Regions from separate parts of the Homo sapiens genome. Here regions 2, 3 and 4 are each linked to region 1. Evidence: promoter capture Hi-C in 16 types of primary human blood cells and fetal thymus (Javierre and others, 2016). All regions are on one chromosome and are shown on one strand. The core of a region is centred on a gene start or on the middle of the fragment in contact, and the rest is flanking DNA. Distances in the headings are between cores, read along the strand shown.

Region 1 (7,502 bases), core at 247-2,746:
ATAGGAGGCCTTCGGGAGAATTAGAGCAAAGACTCTCAGGAGAATTCAGCAGACAGGAACCAGAAGAACTAAAGAAACTTTCAGAAGTGGGCAGAAGAGAGCCAGAAGAACTGGGAAAAACACAATTTGGAGAAATAGGAGAAACGAAAAAAACAGGAAATGAGATGGAAAAGGAATATGAATGAAGCCATCGGTAGAGATGAGGATCAGGAAGCTGGTGTTCAGAGGGATCATGGGATTTTATTAAACTGGATTTTCAAGCGATTTGTCTGTTATAGGAAAAATGAGGGTTTTACTTCTGCTGCTTTCCATCACTATTTTGCCATTAAATAGGTGTCTTTCACTCTTGCAAACCCTGAGTCTGTCACTTTGCCTCTTCACCCCTGCCCATTCTTGGAAGAGCATCGTGGAAGAAATGAGAAAGGTGCCAAGAAGAAAGGGTTTCAGGAGGGTGAAGATACGGGCGCTACAGGGAACAAGAAGTCACAGGGAGGAGAGGGGAAGGCCTGGGAGGAGAGGTGCTTCCCACACACCGGTGACTGACTGAGTCCCTCCAGTGCGCAGGACAGCGGGGAGGCTTTATGGATGGAACAGTGGTGGGGCGGCCCCAGCTGTCACAGGTAGGAGAATGCCGCAAGCCAGAACCAAGCGAATGCTGGGAGTGAGGCCAAAGATAGGGGAGTGGCCTGGGAGTCGGGAGGGCAGACAGACTCCGCCTCTGACACCTCTGGGTGGCATAATCAGGTAAATCAGGCTCTCCAAGCTGGCTTCTCCTCTGAACAATGGGATACCTGCCTCAGGGGTTGCTGCGAGGACTGAGTGCTTAGCACAGCACTTGGACAGGAAACTCAAAAATCCAACGGAGCTCTCAGTGGTTTCACAGAGGAGGTGGCAGCTGAGGATCTGGCCTCAGAGGATGTTAGGATTTCACTCCGTTACTCATCTGTCCCTTTGGCCATTGCCATCCTGGTCTGTCTCCACAGCTCCTAGAAGGAAAGGTCGGGGCTGAGACTGACTTTCGGCTGGCACAGGGCCTGGACGAATGAGGCCAGTGAGGCATTTCAGATGCAGAGTTTACCGGAATGCCAGCAAATTGCATGATAATATTTTAATCCAATGTGGTAAAAAAAAAAGTTTTTAATTAATGCAAAAGTCCATGATGAATAAAATATCAAAAATTAAAGACAGGATCCGACTTTGCACGACCCTGCCTCACTCACTTCCTGCTAATCCACGGGACCGGGGAGGGTGACTGAGTTACCCCTCAACACGCAGAAAAAGCTAGTGGCCGCTCAGCTCGCAGGCGCAGTGGGTGGGTGCGCGTGGGGAGCAGGCGCGCGCAGGGGGCGGGACCGGGCCGAGGTTCCCGCGCGCGGCGAGAGTTTCGGGTTTTGGTTCGCAGCGCCTGCGCGCAGAGGAGACGGCCCGCCCCCAGCCCGCCCGGGTGCCCGCTCCGCCCCCCGGGCTATGTAAAGCGGCCGGGCTCGGGTCGTGCCACCGCTGGACTCCCGTGTCCCTCCGCGCAGGCGGGCGGCCCCGGAGCGCTGGTGCCGGCAGAGGCGGCGACGGTGGCGCCCCTCCTCATCATGGTGAGAGGCCGGGCGGGGCCGGGCACGGGGTAGCACCAGGGCGGGAAACGAGTGTCGGGGCCCCTCGGGAGGAAGCGTCTTGCAAACGAGGACCCGGGGCTCCGGGTTCGACTTCCAGTTTTCTTGGTACTCAGGGCGGCCCTGAGGTCTGGGAGAAGCGGAGGGGTTTTGGGGTGCCGGAGAGGCCGCTGTAAAGGGAAACGGTGGTGTTTCTCAGGAGGGAACTCGGGACCGCAGAAGCTGCTGCGCCTCTGGGAGCCTGGGTGGGCCTGGGCCGGGAGCCCGGGAGCTGCTCCCGACCCCACGCAGGCCCGCGCTGGGGCAGCCGCTTCGGCGCCCCCTCCCCGGGCCCAGTCTCATCACGCGGAACCGCTGCCCCGCGCCCGGGTGCGGGCGGGAGGTGGAGCCAGTTCAGAGGAGGGGACCCTTTACGGTAAAAGCTGCCGTCCCTTGTGGCTTCTAGAAGATAGGAAAACAAGTGGCTCCGAGAGGCGCTTCTGACACACAGCACAGCGGCGGGTAGAGCTGGATCCTAATTGCAGGTGCCCTGTGCTGCCCTGTTCTGGACAGGCACAAAGACCACGACTTTGTGGGGGCCGGGAGAGGGTAGAGGAGGAGGTGGCAGGCTTGGTGAAAGAGGGCCTTTGTCCAGTGCTCTCCTGCCCTGCCCCCCACCAGCCCTTCTGTGGGACCATTGTACCCGCATGCCAGACAAGAGAGTATTATCTGTTGCGGCCATTGTTGGGGGAAGGGAGGCAGTCTTGGGGTAACCCTTCTCCACTCCCCCCCTTCTCTGTGCACTCAGCCGTGGCAGCTGTGGCTTGGCCCAGACACAGAGACCCCCACCTCCAAAGAGGACGTCCTTAGTAGGTGCCAAGCATATAAGAGTGAGGCCAGTCCCAGAACCGCAGGCTCCTGGCGCGCCCCGCATGCCTCCAGCACGTTTACCTTTCCGAAGTGGCAGGAATGGGGAAAGCGCACGCTTAGGAGAGCTTCAGACAAGCTTCCCTCTTCCTCCTCCACGACCAGAAGCGGAAAGGTGCTCCCGGACCGAAAGGGAAAGAAGGTCCAGCACTGCCCCGCTTGGGAAGGCACCCACAACCAGTCTAGGGACTAGGGGTAAGGCCGGCGGGGAGCCCGCGAATGACCTGGGCTGACATCTCTTCCCCTCCTTACACAGAACAGAGGCTTCTCCCGAAAAAGCCACACATTCCTGCCCAAGATCTTCTTCCGCAAGATGTCATCCTCAGGGGCCAAGGACAAGCCTGAGCTGCAGTTTCCCTTCCTTCAGGATGAGGACACAGTGGCCACGCTGCTAGAGTGCAAGACGCTCTTCATCTTGCGCGGCCTGCCAGGAAGCGGCAAGTCCACGCTGGCACGGGTCATCGTGGACAAGTACCGTGATGGCACCAAGATGGTGTCGGCTGACGCTTACAAGATCACCCCCGGCGCTCGAGGAGCCTTCTCCGAGGAGTACAAGCGGCTCGATGAGGACCTGGCTGCCTACTGCCGCCGCCGGGACATCAGAATTCTTGTGCTTGATGACACCAACCACGAACGGGAACGGCTGGAGCAGCTCTTTGAAATGGCCGACCAGTACCAGTACCAGGTGGTGCTGGTGGAGCCCAAGACGGCGTGGCGGCTGGACTGTGCCCAGCTCAAGGAGAAGAACCAGTGGCAGCTGTCGGCTGATGACCTGAAGAAGCTGAAGCCTGGGCTGGAGAAGGACTTCCTGCCGCTCTACTTCGGCTGGTTCCTGACCAAGAAGAGCTCTGAGACCCTCCGCAAAGCCGGCCAGGTCTTCCTGGAAGAGCTGGGGAACCACAAGGCCTTCAAGAAGGAGCTGCGACAATGTAGGTGGCAGGTTGGGGCCTTATAAGCCCACCTTGCTGGGCACAGGGTGCTGCGGGCAAAGGACCATCATTGTACTCAAAGGATGGAGCACGAAGCAGCAGGAGGCAGAGAGAGGCTCACCTCAGCGGGGGCAGGGGCAAGCGGTGCGTCCCAGTGGTAGCCTTGGGGAGTTGGCAGCACATTGGGAACACGGGGGCTTCCCAGAGCGCCTTTCCTCCCACCACACCTATCCTTCTAGCCCTCTTCTCTCCGACACCCTTTTCCCAGCCTGAATGTAGACCACTGTCCCTTGTCTTGGAGGTGGGAAAAACAAATTACTGTAGTAACAGGAAACATGTCCTCTTCTAATGTAACCTTAGAGGGGGAATCAAGCCCAGTGTTTTCCAACGCATTTTTAGCAGCAGAATCATGTTCCAAAAAATAATAATAATAATCACATGAAATTGTAAGCTGCAAAAAAATTAAAACTAGGACTATTGTGGCTTCACTGGGGATGGTTCTCAGGCCTCGGACTGCTCAATTTACTCATGGGTTTGTGGCATCTGCAGCTCCAGAGGACACAAGTCTCACACTTAGGCCAAAACCCGTTTTCAGATGGAAAAACATGGACCCAGGAGGGATGTGGGGTTTACGGGCTGGAACCCTGGACTCTGGCCACTCTAGCAGGGTTCTCTCTTGGCATGGGCTTTTTGCTCCAATGATAGGTTTGAGATAAAGAAGGGTCCTGGTGGCTCTCCTGGAGTGACCTGTTGGAGAAGTGCCACCCACTAATCCATCTATATGCCTTTAGGCCATTTCTGGTTGCCTCCAATTTTATTTATTTATTTATTGTGACACGGAGTCTCCCTCTGTTGCCCAGGCTGGAGTGCAGTGGCGCTATCTCAGCTCAGTGCAACCTCTGCCTCCCAGATTCAAGCAATTCTCCTGCCTCAGCCTCTCGAGTAGCTAGGACTACAGGTGTGCACCACCACGTCCAGCTAATTTTTGTATTTTTAGTAGAGACGGAGTTTCACAATGTTGGCCAGGCTGGTATTGAACTCCTGACCTCAGGTGATCCGCTTGCCTTGGCCTCCCAAAGTGCTGGGATTACAGGCGTGAGCCACCACCGCACCCAGCCACCCCCAATTTTAGATGATCTTCATGCCTGAAATAGCCCCACTCTGGTTTGTTGACATTGTGTATATTGCACAGAAGCAGGGAATTTGTGCCTGTATGGGTTCTCAGAGAGCTTTTTTCTCAGCTCCTAAACTTGAACTCTGCAGTGAACTGTGGTGCTTGCAGTGACATTGGCCAGGAGCAAGCCCTGTACCTGTGAGCTGGTGGCTCTGCCCTGGAGTGACTACTGCTCAAAGTTGCTTTTAATATTTATTTATGAGACGGAGTCTTGCTCTGTTGCCCAGGCTGGAGTGCAGTGGCATGATCTCGGCTCACTGCAACCTCCGCCTCCTGGGTTCAAGCCAATTCTCTGCCTCAGCTTCCCAAGTAGCTGGGAATACAGGCGCCTGCCACCATGCCCGGCTAATTTTTTTTTATTTTTGTATTTTTAGTAGAGACAGGGTTTCACCATCTTGACCAGGCTGGTCGGTAGCACAAAAGAAAGGAGGGGCCCTTGGCCCAAGATGGGACGAATCAAGCTTGACAGGATGATTGCCAGATCTTTTTTTTTTTTTTTTTTGAGACGGGGGTCTTGCTCTGTCGCCCAGGCTGGAGTGCAGTGGGGCAATTCGGCTTACTGCAACCTCCATCTCCCGGGTTCAAGCAATTCTCCTGCCTCAGCCACCCAAGTAGCTGGGATTACAGGCACCCGCCACCATACCTGGCTAATTTATAAATTTTTAGTAGAGACAGGGTTTCACCATGTTGGCCAGGCTGGTCTCAAACGCCCCGCCTCAATTTCCCAAATTGCCGGGATTACAGGTGCGAGCCACTATGCCCAGCCTATTTTATTTGTAAAGGAAAACTGGATTTTTCTGCCCAGGATTAGAGCAGGAGAAATGTAATGGGCCAGCAAGGCTGCTCTCAGGAGAGGCCTTCCTCCCCTGTGGAGGGCGAGACATCCTCATGGGGACTCAATTCAGAACATAACAGGAAAAAGCGAGTGACTCCAAAGACAGCCACAGGTGTGGAGTCTGGAAATCAAAATCACAGATACTCCACTCCTCTTTGTGTCTTCCAGCCCCATAATGTCACCCCATTATAGTCCAAGACCCTTCCTGTACCAGGAGGCCCCCCCATAGGCCTGCAAGGTGTGTATTAAACTGATGGTGACGTTGTGACTGCTTGTCCAGATGGGCCCCTGAGTGAAATGGGGCACTACTGATAGTTCCCTGGTGGTCCTGGGAACACTGGGGTATATGGTCACCCTAACTGTTGTGCTGGATTGATAGATAGGGTTGGTCACTTGCCCGAGGCCGATGGCTGGTACATGGCAGAGCTGAGATATTCACTGTGTTCTGGCTGTTTCCACCGTACCATGTTGTTCCCAGCCCTCTGTTTTCTTTCCACCCCACTTCCCATGACTTGCTTCCCCTTTGAGACGTGGTGCTAGTAAATCTTAGATTCCCTTGGCCTGTACTGCCTGCCTCTGTTACAAATGCCTTAGAGTTTGGAGAAGAGATGGAAAGATCTATACAATGTAAAGCCAGAGAATTTTAACTTTTTTTTTTTTTTTTTTGGAGACGGAGTCTTGCTCTGTTGCCTAGGCTGGAGTGCAGTGGCACTATCTCGGCTCGCTGTATCCTCTGCCTCCTGGGTTCAAGCAATTCTCTACCTCAGCCTCCCAAGTAGCTGGGATTACAGGCGCCCGCCACCACGCCTGGCTAATTTCTTTGTATTTTTAGTAGAGACGGGGTTTCACCATCTTGGCCAGGCTGGTCTTGAATTCCTGACCTTGTGATCCACCCACCTCGGCCTCCCAGAGTGCTGGGATTACAGGTGTGAACCACCGCACCTGGCCTGAGAATTTTAACTTTTTATTGCTCTAAAGTTGCCATTAGTTTGACCAACTAACCAATGAATGAGCTGTAGTGGGTTGCTGGAGAGGTGATGCTTAGTGTCCGAGTGTTTTGCGCTGGGCCTCGGTGGTCCTGGTGGCGGATGTTGGTATGCCCCTGCTCCCCTGCCCTGACTGCACCCGTTTTCTCCCGGCAGTCGTCCCTGGGGATGAGCCCAGGGAGAAGATGGACTTGGTCACCTACTTTGGAAAGAGACCCCCAGGCGTGCTGCATTGCACAACCAAGTTTTGTGACTACGGGAAGGCTCCCGGGGCAGAGGAGTACGCTCAACAAGATGTGAGTCTTCCCCAGGGACACATGGGGGAGGTGGGAGGTTGGGGGAGAAGGGGCTGCAGCATCTTCTGAAGATAGGTACCGGTGCCAGGCAGGGACCAAAAACCAGATGGCAGCTCAAGAAAAATGGCATCTCCTCCTCCTAGCTCCCCTGTCCCCAGGCGTAGCTGCATAGACCTCAGCCGCAGGTTCTAAGGAGCCTGCCCTGGCAGTACTGCCAGCCTGTGCATTCACCTGCCCCCAAGCACCTTCGCCTTCTGCAGATTCATGGAGAATGCTGGTCCACAGTGGGCTCCTGCTCTGGTCTCTCTGAGCCTGTTTTACCTTCCAAAGACTAGGAGTCCTTCGCCCCCAGGGAGCCTGGTGCACTGAGGTCCCCATCCCTGTCCCCAGGTCTGAGGTCTGGCCTGGCCCCAGAGTGAGGGAGTTTCATACGATAATGAAGCTTATTGGCTAATGGGTACGAGACCTTTCTGCACCACACAGCTGGCACCTTACACCCACAGCCACTGACAGTGATCCCTGAATGCCAGGCATGTCACCCATATCCACAGTCTCCAACTTCCAAGTGTCCACCCCCAAGCCCACTCTCCCACTTCTCTGCCTAGGTTAGCACAATCGTTTGTTTGTTCACTAGAGTGTCCTCCCAAATGGAAGCTCCCCTGAGGGCGAGTTTTTAAGTTTCGTTGACTCCTGTGGTTCCAGCACCCTAGCATAGTGGAATGAATATGTAACACCTGAGCTACCATCCCTAACCATGCCTTCATTTAGC
Region 2 (6,577 bases), core at 3,077-5,576, 190 kb after region 1:
TGAGACCAGCCTGGCCAACATGGTCAAACCCCATCTCTACAAAAATACCAAAAAAAAAAATTAGCCGGGCATGATGGCAGGTGCCTGTAATCCCAGCTACTCAGGAGGCTGAGGCAGGAGAATCGCTTGAACACAGGAGGCGGAGGTTGCAGTGAGCCTGGGCAACAGAATGAGAATGAGACTGCCTCAAAAAAAAAAAGAACCTTCAAACCCCTACCTACCCATCAGAGGCAACTGCTATTTTGTGGGCATCCAGTCTGCCAGCACTGGACTAGCTCCTTTCTTTGTTTCTAATTCTGCAAGGTATTTAGCATCCCCATTTTACCAGAAGAAACACAGGCTCAGTGAGGTCAAGTAACAAGCCCAGGGTCACACAACTGGTAAGTGGGGGAATCAGGATGAGAACTCAGGTCCAACTGCCTCTGAAGTTCTAGTGCCTTCCACCCGACCACACTGCCTGTTTACTGGGCAAGGGTTAGAAGTAGAAGGTCTGGCCAGGCGCAGTGGCTCACGCCTGTAATCCCAGCACTTTGGGAGGCCAGGGTGGGCGGATCACGAGGTCAGGAGATCGAGACCATCCTGGCTAACACGGCGGAACCCCATCTCTACTAAAAATACAAAACAATTAGCCGGACGTGGTGGTGGGCACCTGTAGTCCCAACTACTCTGGAGGCTGAGGTAGGAGAATGGCATGAACCCGGGAGGCGGAGCTTGCAGTGAGCCAAGATCGCACCACTGCACTCCAGCCTAGGCGACAGAGCGAGACTCCGACTCAAAAAAAAAAAAAGAAGTAGAAGGTCTAAGAAGTACTTGCTTGGTGGGGCTGAATTTAAATGTATGATCTTGCTCTGTTTCCATGTAAATTCTAGTGACAGGAGCTCCTGGTGGCAAGCCACATTCTTCCCACTTGCAAGCAGCAGGCAGCACCACAGGAGAAACAGAGGACTAACCAGAGGCCCGCTCTGTTGCTTCCCCCTTAACCCTGCCCAGTGGGACCCCTGAGTTTACTCACTTTAACTTTCATTTTCTAGCCATTAGGACTTTCAGGTTCCCAGAAAAATTAATGACATGTAGATGTCAGCAAACTCTCAGGCCCTGAAGAGTACTGACTTGGGACTCCTAACTGTTTTGGTCCTCAGAGGCAGAGGTGAAAGGGGTCAAGAGAGAAGACAGGAGGTCGGGTAGACGCTGGGGAAGACAAAAAAACAGAGGAGCGCTAGTGATGAGGAGGGCTAAAGAGTTAAGAGTCTGCCCTTGTGCCGTGGCGCACTCAGTCTGCATGTTCATTCATTTAACGAACAAACCAGGCCGAAGAAGGGCCCACTGTTAGATCAGGTCACATCTGACCCCAAATCCAAGCCCCAGCTCTACTACTTTCTAAATGTATGATCGATCTTAGGCAAACTACTTAAGTTCCTTCTGCATCCCTTCTAAAGCAGGGACACTTGCCTTATCTTACTCAAAAAAAAAAAAGTAATAATAAAAATTAAAAACAAAGTGGGGAAACAAGCCCCACTATTTCCCAAGGCACCTATGAGGAATATGTATGAAAATAATTTTGCAACCTTAAAATGATTTTTAAAAATTAGTGTTACTGTCCCTCTACAGTTTAACAGCCCTCTAATTGTGAGAGGCAAGAGGGCAGGGGAGGAACAGCATCAGAAAGGAGGGGTTCTGTCGCACACGGAGCCATCGCTCTCTCTGCCAGGCAGAGTCAGACCTCTGCTTGGACTCTATAATTTCTAGGTGCCAGAAGTGGCTGCATAACGACCCAAAGCACTGGGGCCTGCCTCGTCTCTCTAAATGGCAGAGCTTCCCCTTCAAAGTCGTTTCAGGTTGGGTGCAGTGGCTCATGCCTGTAATCCTAGCACTTTGGGAGGCTGAGGTGGGTGGATCATCTGAGGTCAGGAGTTCGAGACCAGCCTGGCCAACATGGTGAGACCCCATCTCTACTAAAAATACAAAAATTAGCTGGGCGTGGTGGTGCATGGCTGTAATCTCAGCTACTCAGGAGGCTGAGGCAGGAGAATCCCTTGATCTCGGGAGGCAGAGGCTGCAGTGAGCCAAGATTGTGCCACTGCACTCCAGCCTGGGTGACAAAACAAGGCTCTGTCTCCAAAAAAAAAAAAAAAGTCGTTTCAGAGTCAGAGCTGGGAGAGCATGTCCAGACAAAGAAAAGAAGGTCTCCTCAGAAGGCTGGTCGGCCTCATCCCAGCACTCCTGAAGAGTGACAAACTGCGGTCTACTCCTGAAGACCTAAGTCTGGTCAGAGACCAATGGCCAGTGAGCAGTCAGGCCTCTCTGGCCCTGCCCCTCAGATGCCCAGGCTGACCAGATCAGAGAAACTAGGTTGGTTGAAGAAGTCTCCAATGAACCCCAAAGGAACCCACACAGATACAGAGCCTGTGATCCAGCTGTTGACCCTAATAAGGAAGGCTTCTTCTGTTGTCCGATAAAAAGTGAAATAAGTAGGCCGGGCACGGTGGTTCACACCTGTAATCTCAGCACTTTGGGAGGCTGAGGCGGGTGGATCACCTGAAGTCAGGAGTTCGAGACCAGCCCGGCCAACATGGCGAAACCCCATCTCTACTAAAAATACAAAAATTAGCCGGGTGTGGTGGCAGGCGCCTGTTAATCCCAGCTACTCAGGAGGCTGAGGCAAGAGAACTGCTTGAACCCAGGAGGCAGAGGTTGCAGTGAGCCAAGATCACGCCACTGCACTCCAGCCTGGGCGACAGAGCAAGACTCCATCTCAAAAACAAACAAACAAAAAAGTGAAGAAAGTACATCCTAGCTCTACTCAAAAGACTGTAGGAATCAGATACTAGCCACTGTCCAGAAGCCCTCAAACACACCTCAAGGCCAAAAAACACAGCACTTTTAAGTGGCAAGCGAGGGTGGTAAAGGTAGCCCAGAACACTGAAGAGCTACAGAAGTTCCCACAAACTGCACGGCTTTCCGTCCCTTCCTCCACTGTAGATAGCAAGGGTCAGTCATGGCCTCAGAGCCAGGCTACTCCTCGTTAAGGTACAGTCTCCGGCCTGTACTTTGGCCACATAACAAAGCTTGGTCTGAGACAGCAGCTATTTCACACACCTAAGCCCCAAGCAACAGACAAGGATCAGTCAATATGGTTGAGGGAACCTGCACTTTCTGGCATGTATCGGAATTCCTCAGGCTACAATTAAAAATCCAGAACTGCCATTGTGATCTTGACTTAGTCCTCAGTAATAAGTCCAAGCCCTGAAGGGATTGCAGACAGACCCTGGCGTGGTGTGGACCTGTTGCTCAGGGAGGTGTATGTGTGTGTGTTTGGGAGTGGGAAAGAGATGGCCCTTCAATTCCAGACTCCTCATTTTGGGTCTTATTCTCCTCCCTATAGACACACGGACAGCAGTCCCAAGAAAAGCAGTCCCTTTGAGGCGGCTGGGAAACCACTCACGTGCTCTGGGAGGACAGAGCTGAGCCTGGAGCAAGGGGGGAGGGGAAAGAAGATAATGAATGGGCACATCCACCCTGATCTGTGATCTGTAGCTAGGATTGAGCAAACCTCAGCTAAATTCTTCAGAGGCAGAAAGAGAGAGACACTCAAAGAACAACATAACTAGAGGACAGGGCTGGGAGACAGAAGGGGCAAAACAGGAAAACAGCTCATTTCTAGTAAGTGACTTTAAACTCAGCTGAGGTCCTGGTTGGTTCTCTGGCTTGAGGAAAGAGAGGAAGTAAGGAGTTGCGGGAGCGCACACACACTTCTGTGCGTGTGGAACGGTCTCACCCAGACGACCCCCCTCCCCCAAAGGAAATCGAGATATTCCTCTAGGGCTAGAGGGGACAACTGGTTTTGTGGGACAGGAGGAAGGAAAACGGCGACAGACAGCACTCCCTGTCACTTCTAAAAGAGAAGAGGGACAGGTTCCTTCACACCTAGCAAAGATCCTCCGATTCTGGAAGCAGGGGGAGCGGAACTTAGGGTACCTCTCTCCCACAACTAGAATGGACAGGCCAGAGGACAGTCATAGCGGTTTCCTTAAGGCTCACCAAAGGCAGGTAAGCTAAGGAAAGAAGCTCCCCACCTCCTATGGCCCGACGCCTGGGGAGCCCCTCAAGAGGGGGCTACGGGTCGGGGGAGGGGTCAGTATCCCCCTAAACTGGGGCTGGGCGGGAGGAAGGGCTGCCCTGGAGATGCTTCAACGCAGGCGAGACACCAGGTCCTGGGACAAGCATACTCACGGCGGCTCCGGGGCGGCGGCGTTACTTGGGGCCGGGGCTCGGACGGGATCCGCTTCTCTCCCCGCCGGCGGTGTCCCAGGCTCCGGCCTCCACTTCCGCCTTTCAGCCGCTCCGGATCCGGATCTCCACCTCCGCCCCGCCCCTCAATACTCCCAGGTGATTGACAGTGCGGAGACCAATGGGAGGCACTCTTGGCCGACCTACCCAGCGGCGCCGGTAGGAACGCGGGAGTGGCGGTAGGGAGCGCGCGAGGGATCGCGGGACTTGTAGTTCGCAGCGCTGGGAGGAGTCAGTGGCTGCCTGGGACTTGGGCTTAGGGTGGAGCCGGCTGACTGCGAGGCGGAGCCCGGCCGGAACTTTTTTTTTTTTTTTGAGACGGAGTCTTACTCTGTCGCCCAGGCTGGAGTGCAGTGGTGCGATCTCACTGCAACCTCTGCCTCCCGGGTTCAAGCGATTCTCCTGCCTCAGCCTCCCGAGGAGCTGGATTATAGGCACGCACCACCACGCCCGACTAATTTTTGTATTTTTTAGTAGAGACGGGGGTTTCGCCATGTTGGCCAGGCTGGTCTCGAACTCCTGACCTCAGGTGATCCGCCCTCTTCGGCCTCTCAAAGTGCTGAGATTACAGGCCTGAGCCACCGCGCCCAGCCTACGGCCGGGAACTTTTTAAGGCTAACCCTGCCATCCGCGTCACCGCCGGTTCCGGACGCCCCGAGGGAAGGCGGGTGGTGGAGCGTTGGAAGAAGGCAGAGGATTGTGTGTGCAGAATTGGGAAAGAAAAAACGTGGTGCGAATGAATATGCACGCGAGGCCTCAGTCCTGTGAACTCGCTGATCTGGAGAAGCCCTTGTCTGCACTGTCCGCCCGATTGCCAGGGGCGTCTGTGATTGGGAAGGTGAGGAAAGCGCTGCAGGAAGAGTTCTCTGCAGGATGCTGGGTGAGATCAAAGGGAGAGCTTCTGCCACCACCTCCTACTTGGTGTGTGCGGGGGCCGGCACAAAGACCATCTCTGCCTCTGCCTTCCCCTGCTCCTAGCCAGGGTCAGCTCTTCTCTCTGACGCGGAATACAGAGCTGGACAACCTCTGCCTCGGCCCTCTCCATCCGTAAATAAAGACTAGAACCACCCCCACTCTGCACTCTCCCCCTCTATGGATCAGGAATATTTGTTTTTTCTGCTCCTCTCAATATGGACTGGGCCCGCTCCTGATTCCTCCCACCCTTACCTCTCAACACAAACCAGTACCTCCTCTTCTTTTGCATCTCATCCTCAAGGGACACTACTGAAAACCTGTGTGGAATCAAAGCTCACCGGAGACAGCTGTGGCCATTGTGCCTATAACGCCAACACCAGGCATATCCTGGAGCCTCAGCTGGAGAATTTACCTGTCTTGGACAACCTGCCACAAAACTGTGCCCACATCTAGTTCCATCTGGTCATCAGGGCGTCTCTCTTTCTTACACCCATAACACACAATCCCCACTTCCGCGCCAGTGTTCATGAGAAGTGAAAAGGAAGAGGGAAGAGAGGGCTTGTTGGGAGGACAGAGGGGATGGGGCAGAGTGGGATTCCTAGCAGGTTCTGGCTGGTGACAAGCTCTTCCCCCAGCCCCCTTGCCATACCCAGTTCTGGAACAGTTCCTTATACAGGAGGGATGGGTAGTCCCCTAGGCCCACCTTTCCAAGGCTGGAGGTGGGCCAAAGCCAGGACTCTGTCCTTCCCACATACTGTGTGCATACATGGCTGTGACTGGGGTGCAGGGGAGAGAAGGGGGTATAATAGGCCCATAGTGACTAATTAAGTTTCTTCCTCAACCCTGGGGCCCCTGGTGGTGTGAATGTGGTGCCAAGTAGATTGGCTGGTGCCTCTGCCCTTCCTAGAGATAGCAACTGGGCCCTGGGGTACAACGAAGGTGAGGGTGGGGAGTGATTGCTGTGTTGGCTCCTCCAAAGCCCTGGGGCTCTCAGAGTAACCCCCAGAAACACCCAGAGCCAATAACTACAAAAATAAAGAGTTTATTTCCTATCCAAAAGTGAGCCCAGGGTGTTGGGTGGTAGAGGAGAGCTGGAGACCTGGGCGAGTTTTGGAGCAGTCCAGGCCCTGAGTGAGACCATGTTGTAATGGGGGAGAACAGGCTTGGCAGCGGTCTGGGGTCAGGGAAAGGATAGGGAGTGCTGTTGGGATTTTTGAGTTGCTAGCAGCAGAAGAGACCACCTTGAGAGACAGCCTGCAGAGAGACAGAAACAGAGATGTTGACAGACCCACGCCTAGGAGTAGAAGCAGACATTACTGGGCCCAAAAAGCACCTGTTGGGCACAGGGACCTGGGAACACACTGTTAGGTAAGGC
Region 3 (7,544 bases), core at 3,143-5,642, 220 kb after region 1:
AGGGTTTCACCATGTTAGCCAGGGTGGTCTCAAACTCCTGACCTCAAGTGATCCACCCACCTCAGTCTCCAAAAGTGTTGGGATTACAGGCGTGGGCCACTGCACCAGGCCCCCCCGCTTTTTTTTTCTTCCTTCCTTCTTTCCTTCTTCCTTCCTTCCTGCATTTCTTTCTTTCTTTCTCTCTCTCACTCTCTCCCTCTTTCTTTCTTTCTTCTTCTTCTTCTTTTTTTTTTTTTTGAGACGGAGTTTCACTCTTGTTGCCCAGGCTGGAGTGCAATGGCGCAATCTCAGCTCACTGCAACCTCCACCTCCAGGGTTCAAGCAATTCTCCTGCCTCTGCCTTCTGAGTAGCTGGGATTACAGGCATGCGCCACCATGCCTGGCTAATTTTGTATTTTTAGTAGAGACAGGGTTTCTCCATGTTGGTCAGGCTGGTCTGGAACTCCTGACCTCAGGTGATCCGCCTGCCTCAGCCACCCAAAGTGCTGGGATTACAGGCATGAGCCACCATGCCTGGCCTTCTCTCTTTCTTCATTTTCTTTTCTTTTTCTTTTCTTTCTTTTTTTTTTTTTTTTTTGAGACAGTCTCACTCTGTCGCCCAGGCTGGAGTGCAGTGGCGCGATCTCGGCTCACTGCAAGCTCCGCCTCCCGGGTTCACGCCATTCTCCTGCCTCAGCCTCCTGGCAGCTGGGACTACAGGTGCCCGCCACCACGCCCAGCTAATTTTTTGTATTTTTAGTAGAGACGGGGTTTCACTGTGTTAGCCAGGATGTTCTCGATCTCCTGACCTCGTGATCTGCCCGCCTCGGCCTCCCAAAGTGCTGGGATTACAGGCGTGAGCTACCACGCCCAGCCCTCTTTATTTTCTTTCTTGAGAAGGTTTCACTCTGTCACCCAGGCTGGAGTGCAGTGGGACAATCATAGCTCACTGCAGCATCAAATGCCACGGCTCAAGCAATGCTCTCACCTCAGCCACCCAAGTAGCTGGGACCACACAGATGCATGCCACAATCCCTGGCTAATATTTAAATTTGTTTGTAGAGACTGGGACTCCCAGGCTGGTCTCAAATCCCTGGCTCAAGCCATCCTCCCCCTTCAGCTTCCCAAACTGCTAGGATTACAGGTGTGAGCTACTGTGCCTGACCAAACTCAGTTTCTACCAGAGGCTGATAGAAAGCTTCTACCTCCCCAGCTTTCTCCCTGGCTCAGGCTACCTGGAGGGGAGGAATGTAGTCCCACTCTACAGTCAACACGGAGTGAGCCGCCATGCATTGAAGAACACATGTCATCTCCAGGCCCAAGCTTCTTATTCACAACCTCTTTTTTTTTTTTTTTTTTTTTTTTTTTTTTTTTTTTTTTTGGAGATAGAGTTTCACTCTTGTTGCCAAAGCTAGAGTGCAAAGGCACGATATTGGCTCATTGCAACCTCTGCCTCCTGGGTTCAAGCAATTCTCCTGCCTCAGCCTCCCAAGTAGCTGGGTTTACAGGTGCACACCACCATGCCCAGCTAATTTTTTGTATTTTTAGTAGAAACACAGTTTCACCATGTTGGCCAGGCTGGTCTTGAACTCCTGACCTCAGGTGATCTGACTGCCTCGACCTCCTAAAGTGCTGGGATTACAGGCATGAGCCATGGCACCTGGCCTACAACCTCTTTATTGAGCTCCTGCTGCATGCCACACCAGGCACTGGGCATGGGGGCAATTGTGCACAGGATCTAGCCCAGTTTCCAAGGAACTCATATTCCAGGTGGGAGGCAGTTCAGGCATAATGATAGTTCAGTGAAGGAGAGGACTACTGCCCACATGAGCAAAGCTGAGCCAGTCACTCTGCCTGGGGTGGGCCTGGTAGGGGGTCCTCAAAGGCCTTGCATGAAAGCTAGTTTACATCAGGGGCAGCGGGATAGAGGGCATTACATAGAAGGGACAACTTGAGCAAACTCCTGGAGTTGACAGTGCTTAACAACCCTTAGATGGGAGGTGAGGCGTGGTCCTTAGTCCAGGCCTTCTTTCAAGCAAGGGGAGAGAGGTAGCTGCACATGTAGGTGAGGGCCAAGGTCAAAGGGTCTAATAGGCCAAATTGATTGGTCTTAATCCTGTGGGCGATGGGGGCCACCATGGGAGGTTTTTTTTTTTGTTTTTTTTTCCCGAGATGGTCTCGCTGTGTTGCCCAGGCTGGTCTTGAACTCCTGGGCATGAACCATCCTTCCACCGCAGCCTCTTGAGTAGCTGGGACTATAGGCCCATGCCACTGTGCCCAGCTTCACAGGAAGATTTTAACAGGATGGAGTGACAGGCGGAGGTGGGGGCCGGGTGGGTATGCAGCCAGGACCTGGGTGTGGGACATGGAATGGAGAAGCTATTCAGAGGCATCTGGATCCAGTGCTGCCTCTACTGAGGAGGAGCTGAGGTCTGCCCCTCCCATCAGCCTCCAAGATGGAAAACCTTAAAACTCCAGTCCAGGCAGTGGGAGGGAAGGAAGCCAAAATCTAGCCCAGTTTCTTTCTTTCTTTTATTTTAGCCTCTACAACCTTGTGGAGGCTGCGTTTCCTCATTAGTATGGAACAGTGAACCCAGATGGTCTCCGGAGTTGCTTCCTGCGGCGATGCCTTATGATGTGAAGTAATAGCTCTCCCTTCCCCACCGCAGAAGTGGTTTGTGGGTGCTGGCCTAGGATGTGCCACGAGTCCTCCAAGGCTCCTGTGTGCGCATGCAGCCTTGCCAGGCCCAGAGCAGAATGTTGGGGGAAAGTCCTGGAGCTCAGTGGGGGAATGGCTGGGCCGGGGTCCACTCCCGTTTCCCCAAAGCAGACCCTGAGGCAAGAATCTGGGTGCAAGAGGTTTATTTGGGAGCCATCCCAGGAAGCCCAAGGCGGGGGAGTGGGGAAGAGAGGGAAGGGAGAGCCCCCGCAGGAAGTACATGAATGAGTGGGTTACTGCTGCGGGCAACTGGGACTCCATCCTGCTGGGCATCCTCTGAGAGTTTATGTAGAATACACTTCAGAATTGTCCTGCTCAAGGACAATGAAGCTGAGGTCCTGCTCCTTATTGACTCAGGGTTGCTGCTCCTGGGGACATTAACCCCCCAACACTTCTAGCTTGCCCAGTGCACTGACTGAGCACACAGCTGTGGCCACCAGAGAACCTCTTTGGGCTGTGATACAGGAAACCATCGGTGTGCATGGTAACTCTCTAGCAGTGTCCTTCATGCCGGGACATGGGGACACGGGCAGGCACTGCTGGCATCTGCTAACCCCGGAGGCCCATACTTCAGAACCGGTCAGCTGGGCCAAGGCCTCTCTAAGGCCCAGCGGCTCTCATGGGCAAATGTCAGGTGACACAGAGTCAGAGACCCTGGCCAAGGACTCCCCATCCGGAGAGGTCCCAGAGGGAGGGGCGAGGTGGCCTCTGGGGGGAGCTGGGCGGTGGGGCAGGACTTGACTCAGGACACCACCCTCTCCTGCAGACACTGGGCCAGGTGCCTGTGCCGAAGGACCCGGGGCATCGCAGGGGGGAAGGGGGAGGAGGGGCAGGCAGCGAGGGCTGCCCGGAGTGCTCGGAAGGCTCCCTGCCCCACCAGGTGGACTCTGGCAGGGCCCACGCTGCCCCAGAACCGCAGGGACTTGTAGCGGGGAGAGGCTTCCTGAAGGCAGTGGTCCAGCTGGGAACAGAACAGCCTGAGTGAGCTGGTGTGTGACTGTGAGTGTGCACACGAGGCGTGTGTGGCTGTGCCCAGGCTACATGTGTTTAGAAGTTTTGTGTGGACAGGTGTGTGTCTGTGGGACTTAGCCCTCCCCTCCCAGAGCCCCAGGGAGCTTCTCCTCCGCCACCCCTCTCCTTCCCATCAGCCCTGATCTCCATGGCACCCTGGGAGTGTGCAGAGTGAAGGGGTCTACAGTCAGACCCTGTCCTCGTCTCCTTTACCTTGTCTCGATTTTCCTCTGACAGATTCCTCAGCCCCCTCAGCGCCACAAACACCTCGTAGTGGGGAGCAGAGCCCGCAGAGGAATCTGTGAATAGACCCCATGTGCACACATACTTCCGGTGAATGGGCAGCTGCCAAGTCTAGTGTCCTCTGCCCTATCTGTTCTTCCCCACTCTGAGATTCATAGGGAAAAAAGAGTTTCTTGGTGGGGAGTGGGGTAAATGGAGAGGAACCTAGAGCTTGATCCTAAATAGGAGACAGATCAGGAAAGAAAATGGGTAGAGACTGCAGCAGGATGGATGAGAGTTAGATGCAGAGAAGGACTTTTGTAGGAGTAGTAAAGGAGGCTTATCTCTTTCCTAGCAGTCCCCTGGCAGGGGAGGTAGGAGTTGAAGGGTAGCTCAAGGATGGTAGGCAGGAGCCGGTGGGGAGGCTCACCCAGAATGCTGCTCTCCACACAGCCATGGTCCAGCAGCTTGGCCCCCGCCCACTGCCCCACTGCCCGGCCCAGGGCCTCAGAGAACAGGTCTTCACCAATATCTTCCCCTCGCACACTCAGGGTCTGGTCCAGCCTGAAGAGGAGGAAGGGAGAGGCAGTGGAGCCCAGGACACAAGGATGGCCCTTCAGCTCCCCGGGGTCACCTACCTGCAGATGAACCTGACGACTGGACACTGATTGTAGGCACCAACCACTCGCACCACATCACCCAGGCGGCACCTGATGGGGTGCAAGTGGGAGTGAGGTCGGGCCCAAGGTCTTCTGAGCTCATGCCCCAGGCCCCCAGCACGGTCCCATAGGGCCCCAGGTAGCAGGGGCTGTGCAGCTGATCACCTGGTGAGGCTGGCGCGGTCCGTCAGCACCAGCTCATACTCCTTGCCCTGCTGGGCCTCGGCCAAAAGGAGGGTGGAGGCAGCTTCCTCCTGGGTGCCTTCCTTGACTGGGAGCAGCTCGATAAAGGGGGCCCCAGGGGGCAGAAGGTAGAGCCCATGGGGCTGCTCTGGCTGTAGGTTTAGGCCCAGCACCCCTGTGAAAGCAAAGCAGCCTCCTCAGCGTCTGCTGGTGCCATCGCTTTCTGCCAGGCAATAGCCCCTCCTGGATCCCAGGCCTGATCCTCTGAGCACCTGATCCTCCTGCTGCCCTTCCACCACATCCTTCCTGGCTCCCCCAGCCTCAGCGGGCTGCCTCTTAGGCCCTCACTGGAAAGAGGCAGAGTGCTGTGGTCCTGGAGGGGGCAGACTTGGGAGTGAATCCTGGTGCCACATGAATTTGTGCAAGACTCTTTTTTTTTTTGAGACAGAGTCTCGCTCTGTCACCTAGGCTGGAGTGCAGTGGTGCGATCTCGGCTCAGTGATTCAGTGATTCCTGGGTTCAAGTGATTCTCCTGCCTGAGCCTCCTGAGTAGCTGAGATTACAGGCGCCTGCCACCACACCTGGCTAATTTTTGTATTTTTAGTAGAGACAGGGTTTCACCACATTGGCCAGGCTGGTCTTAAACTCCTAACTTCAGGTGATCCACCCACCTCAGCCTCTCCCAAAGTGCTGGGATTACACCCGTGAGCCACTGCCCCGGCCTTTTTTTTTTTTTTTTTTTTTTGAGACAGGGTCTTGCTCTGTCACCCAGGCTGGAGTGCAATGGCGCGATCTCAGCTCACTATAATTTCTGCCTCCAAGGTTTAAGCAATCCTCCCGCCTCAGCCTCCCAGGTAGCTGGGATTATAGGCGTGCACCACCATACTCCGCTAGTTTTTGTATTTTTAGTAGAGATGGGGTTTCGCCATGTTGGCCAGGCTGGTCTGGAACTCCTGACCTCAACGATCCATCCACCTTGGCCTCCCAAAGTGCTGGGATTACAGGCGTGAGCCACTGCACCCAGCTACAAGACTCTTAACCTAGAGAGCCTGAATTTCTTCACTTGTAAAAGGAGGCTGCTGGCCCTAGCATGCAGCTTGTTGGGGAGGATTAAATGAGATGATTATGTAGGGCCCAATGCATGGCTGCTTGTCATGTGACCACTGACCGTTGCCCCCACCTCACTGCCCTTGAGTCCCACTGACCTCCCGAGGCAGCATAAGCAGGAGAGAAGAAGGCTAGTCCTTGGCACCACAAGGCCCCGAGGGCAGCCACAGCCTCGGCCTGGCCTCCTGCATCCAGAGTCACCACCACCTGCAGCTTTGGCCAGAGCCGAAGGGCCAGTCCCCGTGGCCCCTGCTCTAGGGCCTCCCGGAGCTCAGCTGCCCGTTCACGGAGAGGCGCTCCAGGGTTCCCGGCAGCTATCGCCCCAGCTAGCTCTTCACCATCAGTCTCCAGGCCCAAGAAAACATCCAGAAGTTCGACAGCCGTCCCAGCCTCCAGTGCCCTCAGCCCTGGGGACCTCAGTGCGTCCAGCAGCAGGGCCCTAGGGTCCTTGGTTCCAGGGGTGCCCACCTGGCCCAGGGTATTCCCAGGCCAAGGCAGGGGTCGGGGCCAAGGGGATGTAAGCGTCACACGGGCAGTGCGTCCCTGAGCCAGCACTTCTGGGTAGGCCTTGTTTAGGGCTGCCAGACCCAGCAAGGTGGCCTGGAGGAGGAAAGAGAGAATGTTGGTCTGGTGTCAGAGCCAGACCCAGAGCCCCCATTTGGGGGTTCTTTGCCCACCATGACTGGAGGGTTTGGCTGCAAGTCAGAGGTCTCTGGTGGGACTGGGCTGTGGCCAGGACTGGGCTCTGGCCATCCTAGATTACCTGCAGAGAGGCCTCCCCAAGGTCCTGGTTTGAGGTCGGGGGCAGTGGCTGCTCTCCACTGTCTTCCTGCTGGGTCTGGCTGGCCTTGGTCAGAGGGAGATGATTCCGGAAGGTGCTTATGTCTATAGCCCCAATGACAACAGAAACGCCTCAGGAAGCCAGTTTCCCAAGAGTTTCAGGCAAGACTGGTGAGACCCTTGAGGGAGGAACCGAGAATAGGCCTGGGGTAGAGAGGATGTAAGGACCCAGCATGGGAAATTCATCTTGGACAAGAAAGCCAGTCCTGGGTCTCTGGGTCAGGCCACTCCGTTGGCAGTGGAGGAGGTAAGGGGGCCATCAGGCTCTGGAATCTGACGGTCCTGTGGGGTTTCTTTCTCTTTGGGTCACCTCCCCAGACCCTGGGAAACACACCTGTGCTCCTTCTGAGGGAACAGTGGGGGCGCTGGGCTCCCTGTAGACACCACCTCAGGGCCTGCTGCTGGCTCTGGTGCACATGGAGCGTGCTCTGCTCCAGCCTCCGCCGCTGCCAGGTGGCTGCCCAGACCAGGGCCCCCCATGCCACTCGGTGCTGGAGGCCAGCAAGCCAGGACAGCCTGGCATCCTGGGACCGCTGCTGCCTGAGCAGGGCCAATGTTGGCAGCAGCAGCAGCAGCAGCAGCAGTGGCCACAGCAGCATCTCCAAGCAGCTCCTGGGAAGAGGAAGGAACCGAGATATGGGGGCATGCAGCAATTATCCATTTCTCCTCCCACGCTCTACTGCATACAGGAAAACCGAGGAAAAATGAAATTGGGAAGAAGGCAGGACCCTGTGGGGCAGGTGATGCAAAGGAGAGACTATCAAAGCTTTGGAGTCCCACTGACCTGAGTGCAGATCCTGCCTCTGCCGCTTGTTAGCTGTAGG
Region 4 (6,656 bases), core at 3,313-5,812, 240 kb after region 1:
ACGGTGGTGCAATCTCGGCTCACTGCAGCCTCCGCCTCCCAGGTTCAAATGATTCCGATGCCTCAGCCTCCTGAGTAGCTGGATTACAGGTACACCACCACACTTTGGCTAATTTTTGTATTTTTAGTAGAGATGGGGTTTCACCATGTCACCCAGGCTGTTTTCTAACTCCTGACCTCAAGTTATCTGCCCACCTTGGCCCCCCAAGGTGCTGGGATTACAGGCATAAGCCACCGCACTTGGCCAAGCATTTAATATTTCAATCTGTTAGGAAGACCTGGTAGAGGAGAAGGTCAGCACTAAAACTGAAATTCAAGATATCTTCCAAATTGGCTTGGATGTTTCAATAAATTCTTCAAACCATGGAAACTATGTACTTCAATACAAATCTAAGTCAAGCACTAATTGCATACTAATTAAAAAAAAAAAAACACCTTGAAAAGCTTAAAGTCCAAGATGCAGCAGAGAGACAGGATTTGTTCTACCTGACCCAGGGGATAAAATCAGGACCAGGAGGGGCAGGTCATAAGAGGACAAATGTTCAGTCATGCAGGGAAGAATGTTCTAAGTAGAACTGCCAGGAAAAGAAATGATTTATCTTAGGAAGGACTGATTTCCTTGTCACTGGAGGTTTTCTTTTTTTTCTTTTTTGACAGAGTCTTACTCTGTTGCCCACACTGGAGTGCAGTGGTGCGATCTCAGCTCACTGCAACCTCTGCCTTCTGGGTTCAAGTGATTCTCATGCTTCAGCCTCCCGAGTAGCTGGGATTACAGGTGCGCACCACCATGCCCAGCTACTTTTTATATTTTTGGTAGAGATGGGGTTTCTCCATGTTGGTCAGGCTGGTCTCGAACCCCTGACCTCAAGTGATCCACCCGCCTTGGCCTCCCAAAGTGCTGAGATTACAGGTGTGAGCCACGGTGCCTGGCCATCACCGGAGGTTTTCAAGCAGGAGGTGCATACACGTCAGGGATCTAATGGAAAGGCCTAGGCACTGGAGAGCCGCTGATCTGATCTGATGATGTCTGAGGTTCCTCTAACTCTGAGTGTCTAGTCTTTCAGGAAAGGGAAGGCTACTTTTCCCAGCACCTGCACGCTCCTTCACGCCTGGTGTTTCTGCATTTGGGGTACTTTGATGTCACTAGTCCCAGTGAGTGCTGTTGGTGCCAAGAATGCGATGTGTCCTTTGCTTCCCACAGAATCCCCACTGGGATGTGGCAGATGAGCAGATAAACCTGCACGTGATCTGGTCAACCACAGTTACCTTTTCAGAAGGCTGACTATGGAAATCCAGGTAAGCAGGTGGTAAGAATGTGATTATCTGACATGGGAGAATGAAGTCTTGTTTCTGGGTACGTGAATATGGGAATCAGTACAAAGTTAATTATACTAGGCAAGGACGATCACACTATGATTATAGGACAAGGAGCTTGTCATTTAAGTAGCCCAAGAGGGTGAAACGCTGCAGGGTTCACCAATTGCTTATTACCCTAATCTTCTTCTAGGGCTTCAAGTGTCAGGAGCGACCTTTTCATAACATGTTTTTTGTGCTTTACAGTGTACAGAGTATTTTATAGATTGGCTAAGAAGTTAAAAACAAAGAAATGCTGCCAGAAATAGGATTTTATTTTTTTCTGAGACAGGGTCTTACTCTGTCACATAGGCTACAGTGCAATGGCACAATCATAGCTCATTGCAGCCTCAAATTCCTGGGCTCAACCAATCTTCCAGCCTCTGCCTTCTGAGTAGCTGGGACTACAGGCATGCGCCACCAAGCGCAGCTAACTTTTTCTTTTTTGTAGAGATGGAGTCTCACTATGTTGCCCAGGCTGGTCTCAAACTCCTAGGCTCAAGCAATCCTTCCTCCTCCGCCTTCTAATGTGCTGGAATTACAGGCATGAGCCACTGTGCCCAGGCCCAAATTATAAGTATCTTAAATAACCAACATGTAACTCACCATACAGTGGGATTGTATGCAGTCATCAAAATGAGGTTGGAAGATTACATTTACTGAGCTGTAACTCTGCATAGGATATATTTCTTTTTTTTGAGGCAGAGTCTCGCTCTGTTGCCCAGGCTGGAGTGCAGTGGTGTGATCTTGGCTCACTGCAACCTCCGCCTCCCGGGTTCAAGTGATTCTCTTGCCTCAGCCTCCTGAGTAGGTGGGATTACAGGTACCTGCCACCATGCCCGGCTAATTTTTGTATGTTTTTTAGTAGAGATGGGGTTTCACCATGTTGGCCAGGCTGGTCTCAAACTCCTGACCTCAAGTGATCCACCTGCCTTGGCCTCCCAAAGTGTTGGGATTACAGGCATGAGCCACCATGCCCAGCTACCTAGGATATATTTCCAAGTAAAAAAAAAAAGTCACAAAAAATTACATATGATATGGTCTAGACTCCAACCTTTCACCCTGAACTCCAAGGCTGGAGTGTCCTGACCTCAGTTCCTACCACTTATCTTCCCTGCTCAAGAGGCTCCAGCCTCCCTGGCCCTCCTGAGGCTTTCCAGACATGGCCATTCTCAACCCAGGATTTTTGTACTTGTTCTCTTGGCATACAATGTTTTTCTCTAGATCTTTGTATGGCTAGCTTCCTCACTTCATTCAGGTCTTTTCAAACATCACATCCTGGCTAGGTAGAGTGGCTCATGCCTATAATCCCAGAACCTTGGGGGACTGAGGAAGGAACATTGCTTGAGCCCAGGAATTTGAGACCAGTCTGGGAAACACAGCAAGACCCCATATCTATAAAAATAAAATAATTAACCAGGATTGGTGGTGCATGCCTGTAGTCCCAACTATGTGGGAGGCTGAGGTGGGAGGATCCCTTGAGTCTAGCAGTTTGAGACTGCAGTGAGCAATGTACTCCAGCCTGGGCAACAAAGTGAGACCCCATCTCAAACAAACAAACAAACAAAACAACAACAAAAAAAACAAACATGTCCTCAGAGAAACCCTCCTTGACCACTCTAGTAAAATAACACCTCCACTCTCCTCCCTGCCACTTCTCTATCCCTCTACCTTGCTTTATTTGTCTTCAGGGCGCCCATCACTAAATTAATATATTTGTGTTTTGTTTGTTTTTGAGATGGAGTCTCGCTCTGTCACCAGACTGGAATGCAGTGGCATAGTCTCGGCTCACTGCAACTTCTGCCTCCCTGGTTCAAGCAATTCTCCTGCCTCCCTGGTTCAAGCGATTCTCCTGCCTCAGTCTCCCAAGTAGCTGGAATTACAGGCGCCCACCACCACACCTGACTACTTTTTGTATTTTTAGTAGAGATGGGGTTTCACCATGTTGGCCAGGCTGGTTTCAAACTCCTGACCTCAGGTGATATGCCTGCCTCGGCCTCCCAAAAGTCTGGGATTACAGGCATGAGCCACCGCGCCCGGCCTGAATATGTTTCCTTGTTTATGGTCTTCGTTCTGCTGCTAGATAACCTCCACACAGGAAGTTCAAGCAACGGGTGATGCAATGTATAATACATATCTATATATAGAGTGCAAGAATAGTCACTAAATCATCCATAGAGGTTAATCTCTAGATGAGAGATGTTGTGTGGTATCTGTTTTTTTGTTTTCTTTTCTTTTGTTTTTGAGACAGAGTTTCACTCTTGTTGCCCAGGCTGGAGTGCAATGGCACGATTTCAGCTCACCACAACTTCCACCTCTCGGGTTCAAGCAATTCTCCTGCCTCAGCCTTCCCGAGTAGCTGGGATTACAGGCATGCGCCACCATGCCAGGCTAATTTTGTATTTTCAGTAGAGGTGGGGTTTCTCCACGTTGGTCAGGCTGGTCTTGAACTCCCGACCTCAGGTGATCTGCCTGCCTCAGCCTCCCAAAGTGCTGGGATTATAGGTGTGAGCCACCACGCCCGACCTTCCTTTTTTTTTTTTTTTTGAGACTGAGTCTCACCCTATTGCCCAGGCTGGAGTGTGGTGGCGTGGTCTCAGCTCACTGCAATCTCCACCTCCTGGGTTCAAGTGATTCTCATGCCTCAGCCTCCCGAGTACCTGCGATTACAAGTGCCTGCCACCACACCTAATTTTTGTATTTTTTGTAGAGATAGGGTTTCACCATGTTGGCCAGGCTGGTCTGGAACTCCTGACCTCAAATGATCCGCCTGCCTTGGCCTCCCAAAGTTCTGGGATTACAGGCATGACCCACCGTACCCAGCCTGTTTTCTTTTTTATGCCTTTATGTGTCTTCTGAAAATTTTATAATAAATATGTAATACTTCTAAACTCAGAAAGCAATAAAACCATCTCTGTCATGAAAAACAAAATTTTACCTAATTTTGTTTGATCTAAGCTTGTATTAAAAAGAATTTGTTTTCTTCAATTTGATATTTGGGGTTAGTGGTAGATGTGTTTTCTGTATGACTGAAGAATCCAGCCCAAGGTTTACATCTGCCCTGGAAAATGCTCAAACTGCTCTCACTGAATGGTAATTGTGTGGGTTTTCACACAAGAGAGATAACACACGCAGGTATGCACACACACACACACACACACACACACACACACACACAACAAAATCAAATCAGAATGCGAACATTGTTACCAGTAGCAGACTCGCAGGGAACTGGTGTGTAGTATTTGGAGTATACTTCATCTTTTGGCCGATCAGGAAACACGTAGATAAGGTAATTCAAGTCTCCCAAGCGGTCGGCTAGGGACCGAATGGAGAAGTCTCTGGTGGTAAAAGGCATCAGATTCCAAAACATTCTTTCCTCTAGATCAATAAACAGAACAATCACATTCTAAACATGATTTCTGAATTAGGAAATCTTAAAACCCCAACATACTATAAATTCAAGCTTGCCATTATAATGGCTCCAATAGAAATCTCCATTTAAAAATAACCATGGGTTATAGATGAAATACTTTTATTTATTTACTTACTTACTTACTTATTTTGAGACGGAGTCTCACTCTGTTACCAGGTTGGAGTGCAGTGGTGCGATCTTGGCTCACTGCAACCTCCAACTCCCTGGTTCAAGCGATTCTCCTGCCTCAGCCTCCCAAGTAGCTGGGATTACAGGCACGCGCCACCACACCTGGCTAATTTTGTATTTTTAGTAGAGATGGAGTTTCCCTATGTCAGCCAGGATGGTCTTGATCTCCTGACCTCATGATCCACCCACCTCAGCCTCCCAAAGTGCTGGGATTACAGGCGTGAGCCACCGTGCCCGGCCTGAAATAGTTTTAAAAGCCATGGGTAGGGGCCAGGCATGTTGGCTCATGCCTGTAATCCCACACTTTTGGAGGCCTAGGCAGGTGGATCACCTGAGGTCAGGAGTTCAAGACCAGCCTGGCTAACATGATGAACCCTGTCTCTACTAAAAATACAAAAATCAGCCAAGTGTGGTGGCACTCATCCGTAGTCCCAGGTACTATGCTGAGGTAGGAGAATGGCTTGAAGCTGGGAGGTGGAGGTTGCAGTGAGCTGAGATCATGACACTGCACTCCAGCCTGGGTGACAGAGACCCCATCTCAAAAATAAATAAATAAATAAATAAATAAAAATAAAAGCCATGGGTAGATAAGCAGGTAATACAAAAATCACTTCCCAAGAGATCCAATGATCTCAGACGTTTCAAGTTCAAACAGTATTCTAGCCCTCAGTAGAAGAAACAGTTTTTACTGGCCCCCAATCCCTGATTTCCCATACAAAGATATATAAAAGCTAGGAAGCATGCCCACAACCAGAGAAAGCATAAGAGCTATTAAAAGTGATGAATTTTTTTTTTTTCGAGATGGAGTCTTGCTCTGTTGCCCAGGCTGGAGTGCAGTGGCGCGATCTCGGCTCACTGCAAGCTCCGCCTCCCGGGTTCACGCCATTCTCCTGCCTCAGCCTCCCAAGTAGCTGGGACTACAGGTGCCCACAACTACACCCGGCTAATTTTTTTGTGTTTTTAGTAGAGACGGGGGTTTCACTGTGATGGCCAGGATGGTCTCGATCTCCTGACCTCATGATCCGCCTGCCTTGGCCTCCCAAAGTGCTGGGATTACAGGCGTGAGCCACCGCACCCAGCCTTTTTTTTTTTTTCTTTTAAGAGACAGGGTCTTACTCTGTTGCCCAGGCTGGAGTACAGTGATGTGATCATGACTCACTGTAACCTTGAACTCCCAGGGTCAAGTGATCATCCCACCTCACCCTCCAGAGTAGCTGGGACTACAGGCGCACACCATGAGCACCACCATGCCCACCTAATTAACTTATTTATTTATTTATTTACTTAGAGACAGGGTCTTACTATGTTGCCCAAGCTGGGCTTGAACTCCTGGCCTCAAGAGATCCTCCTGCCTGAGGCTCCCAAAGTGCTGGGATTACAGGCATGAGCCACCGCACCCAGCCAAAAGTTATTAAAAACTTTAATTCACAGAAAATGAACCAGCAAGCTACCCTTATTGTGAGGGTCAGAGGAGAGAACTAACTTTCCTGATGCCCTGGTGCAGTGGCTCAAGCCCGTAATCCCAATACTTTGGGAAGCCAAAGTGGGGGATTGTTTGAGCCCAGGAGTTCGAGACCAGCCTGGGCAACATACAAAAAATTTAAAAATTAGATGGGTGTGGTGGTGCACGTCTGTGGTCCCAGCTAATCGGGAGGCTAAGGGAGGAGGACTGCTTGAGGCCAGGAGGTCAAGGCTGCAGT

Evidence for each region. Contacts are between HindIII fragments. The CHiCAGO score rates a contact against its expected background, and 5 or more counts as called.
Region 2: the fragment with the promoter of RAB5C here is called in contact with the fragment with the promoter of CNP in region 1 in 15 of 17 cell types (monocytes, endothelial precursors, megakaryocytes and 12 more); the score reaches 14.4 in monocytes.
Region 3: a contact is called between a fragment that was not itself captured here and the fragment with the promoter of CNP in region 1, in 3 of 17 cell types (M0 macrophages, endothelial precursors and M1 macrophages). The highest score is 7.2, in M0 macrophages.
Region 4: a contact is called between a fragment that was not itself captured here and the fragment with the promoter of CNP in region 1, in 6 of 17 cell types (M2 macrophages, M0 macrophages, M1 macrophages and 3 more). The highest score is 7.1, in M2 macrophages.

What each region holds. Positions count from the first base shown.
Region 1 is chr17:41,965,299-41,972,800 of GRCh38, forward strand. It overlaps CNP (2'',3''-cyclic nucleotide 3'' phosphodiesterase), which reads left to right and starts at 1,497. Exons shown (of 4, transcript NM_033133.5): 1 at 1,497-1,589; 2 at 2,770-3,442; 3 at 6,594-6,733. The coding sequence starts at 1,587. ODAD4 (outer dynein arm docking complex subunit 4) reads left to right here. Exons shown (of 12, transcript NM_031421.5): 12 at 1-1,205. The coding sequence ends at 185. RefSeq lists enhancers at 770-869, 1,971-2,528, 2,529-3,086, 3,087-3,644 and silencers at 1,240-1,679, 1,810-1,999. The HindIII fragment of the contact is 2,895 bases long and covers 1-2,590 here.
Region 2 is chr17:42,150,663-42,157,239 of GRCh38, forward strand. RAB5C (RAB5C, member RAS oncogene family) reads right to left here and starts at 4,327. Exons shown (of 6, transcript NM_004583.4): 1 at 4,231-4,327. RAB5C-AS1 (RAB5C antisense RNA 1) reads left to right here and starts at 3,738. Exons shown (of 3, transcript NR_187282.1): 1 at 3,738-4,047; 2 at 4,337-4,446; 3 at 5,106-6,261. KCNH4 (potassium voltage-gated channel subfamily H member 4) reads right to left here. Exons shown (of 17, transcript NM_012285.3): 17 at 6,229-6,456. RefSeq lists enhancers at 3,779-4,399, 4,309-4,603, 4,486-4,595. The HindIII fragment of the contact is 7,588 bases long and covers 3,064-6,577 here.
Region 3 is chr17:42,186,263-42,193,806 of GRCh38, forward strand. It overlaps GHDC (GH3 domain containing), which reads right to left. Exons shown (of 10, transcript NM_032484.5): 2 at 7,505-7,544; 3 at 7,055-7,332; 4 at 6,644-6,765; 5 at 5,979-6,480; 6 at 4,756-4,948; 7 at 4,570-4,641; 8 at 4,362-4,495; 9 at 3,923-4,008; 10 at 2,825-3,659. The coding sequence starts at 7,319. The coding sequence ends at 3,441. Among named protein-coding and RNA genes, the nearest start is that of GHDC, 4.5 kb to the right of the region's middle. RefSeq lists an enhancer at 6,720-7,250. The HindIII fragment of the contact is 6,184 bases long and covers 1,301-7,484 here.
Region 4 is chr17:42,202,996-42,209,651 of GRCh38, forward strand. It overlaps STAT5B (signal transducer and activator of transcription 5B), which reads right to left. Exons shown (of 19, transcript NM_012448.4): 16 at 4,563-4,733. Among named protein-coding and RNA genes, the nearest start is that of GHDC, 12 kb to the left of the region's middle. The HindIII fragment of the contact is 508 bases long and covers 4,309-4,816 here.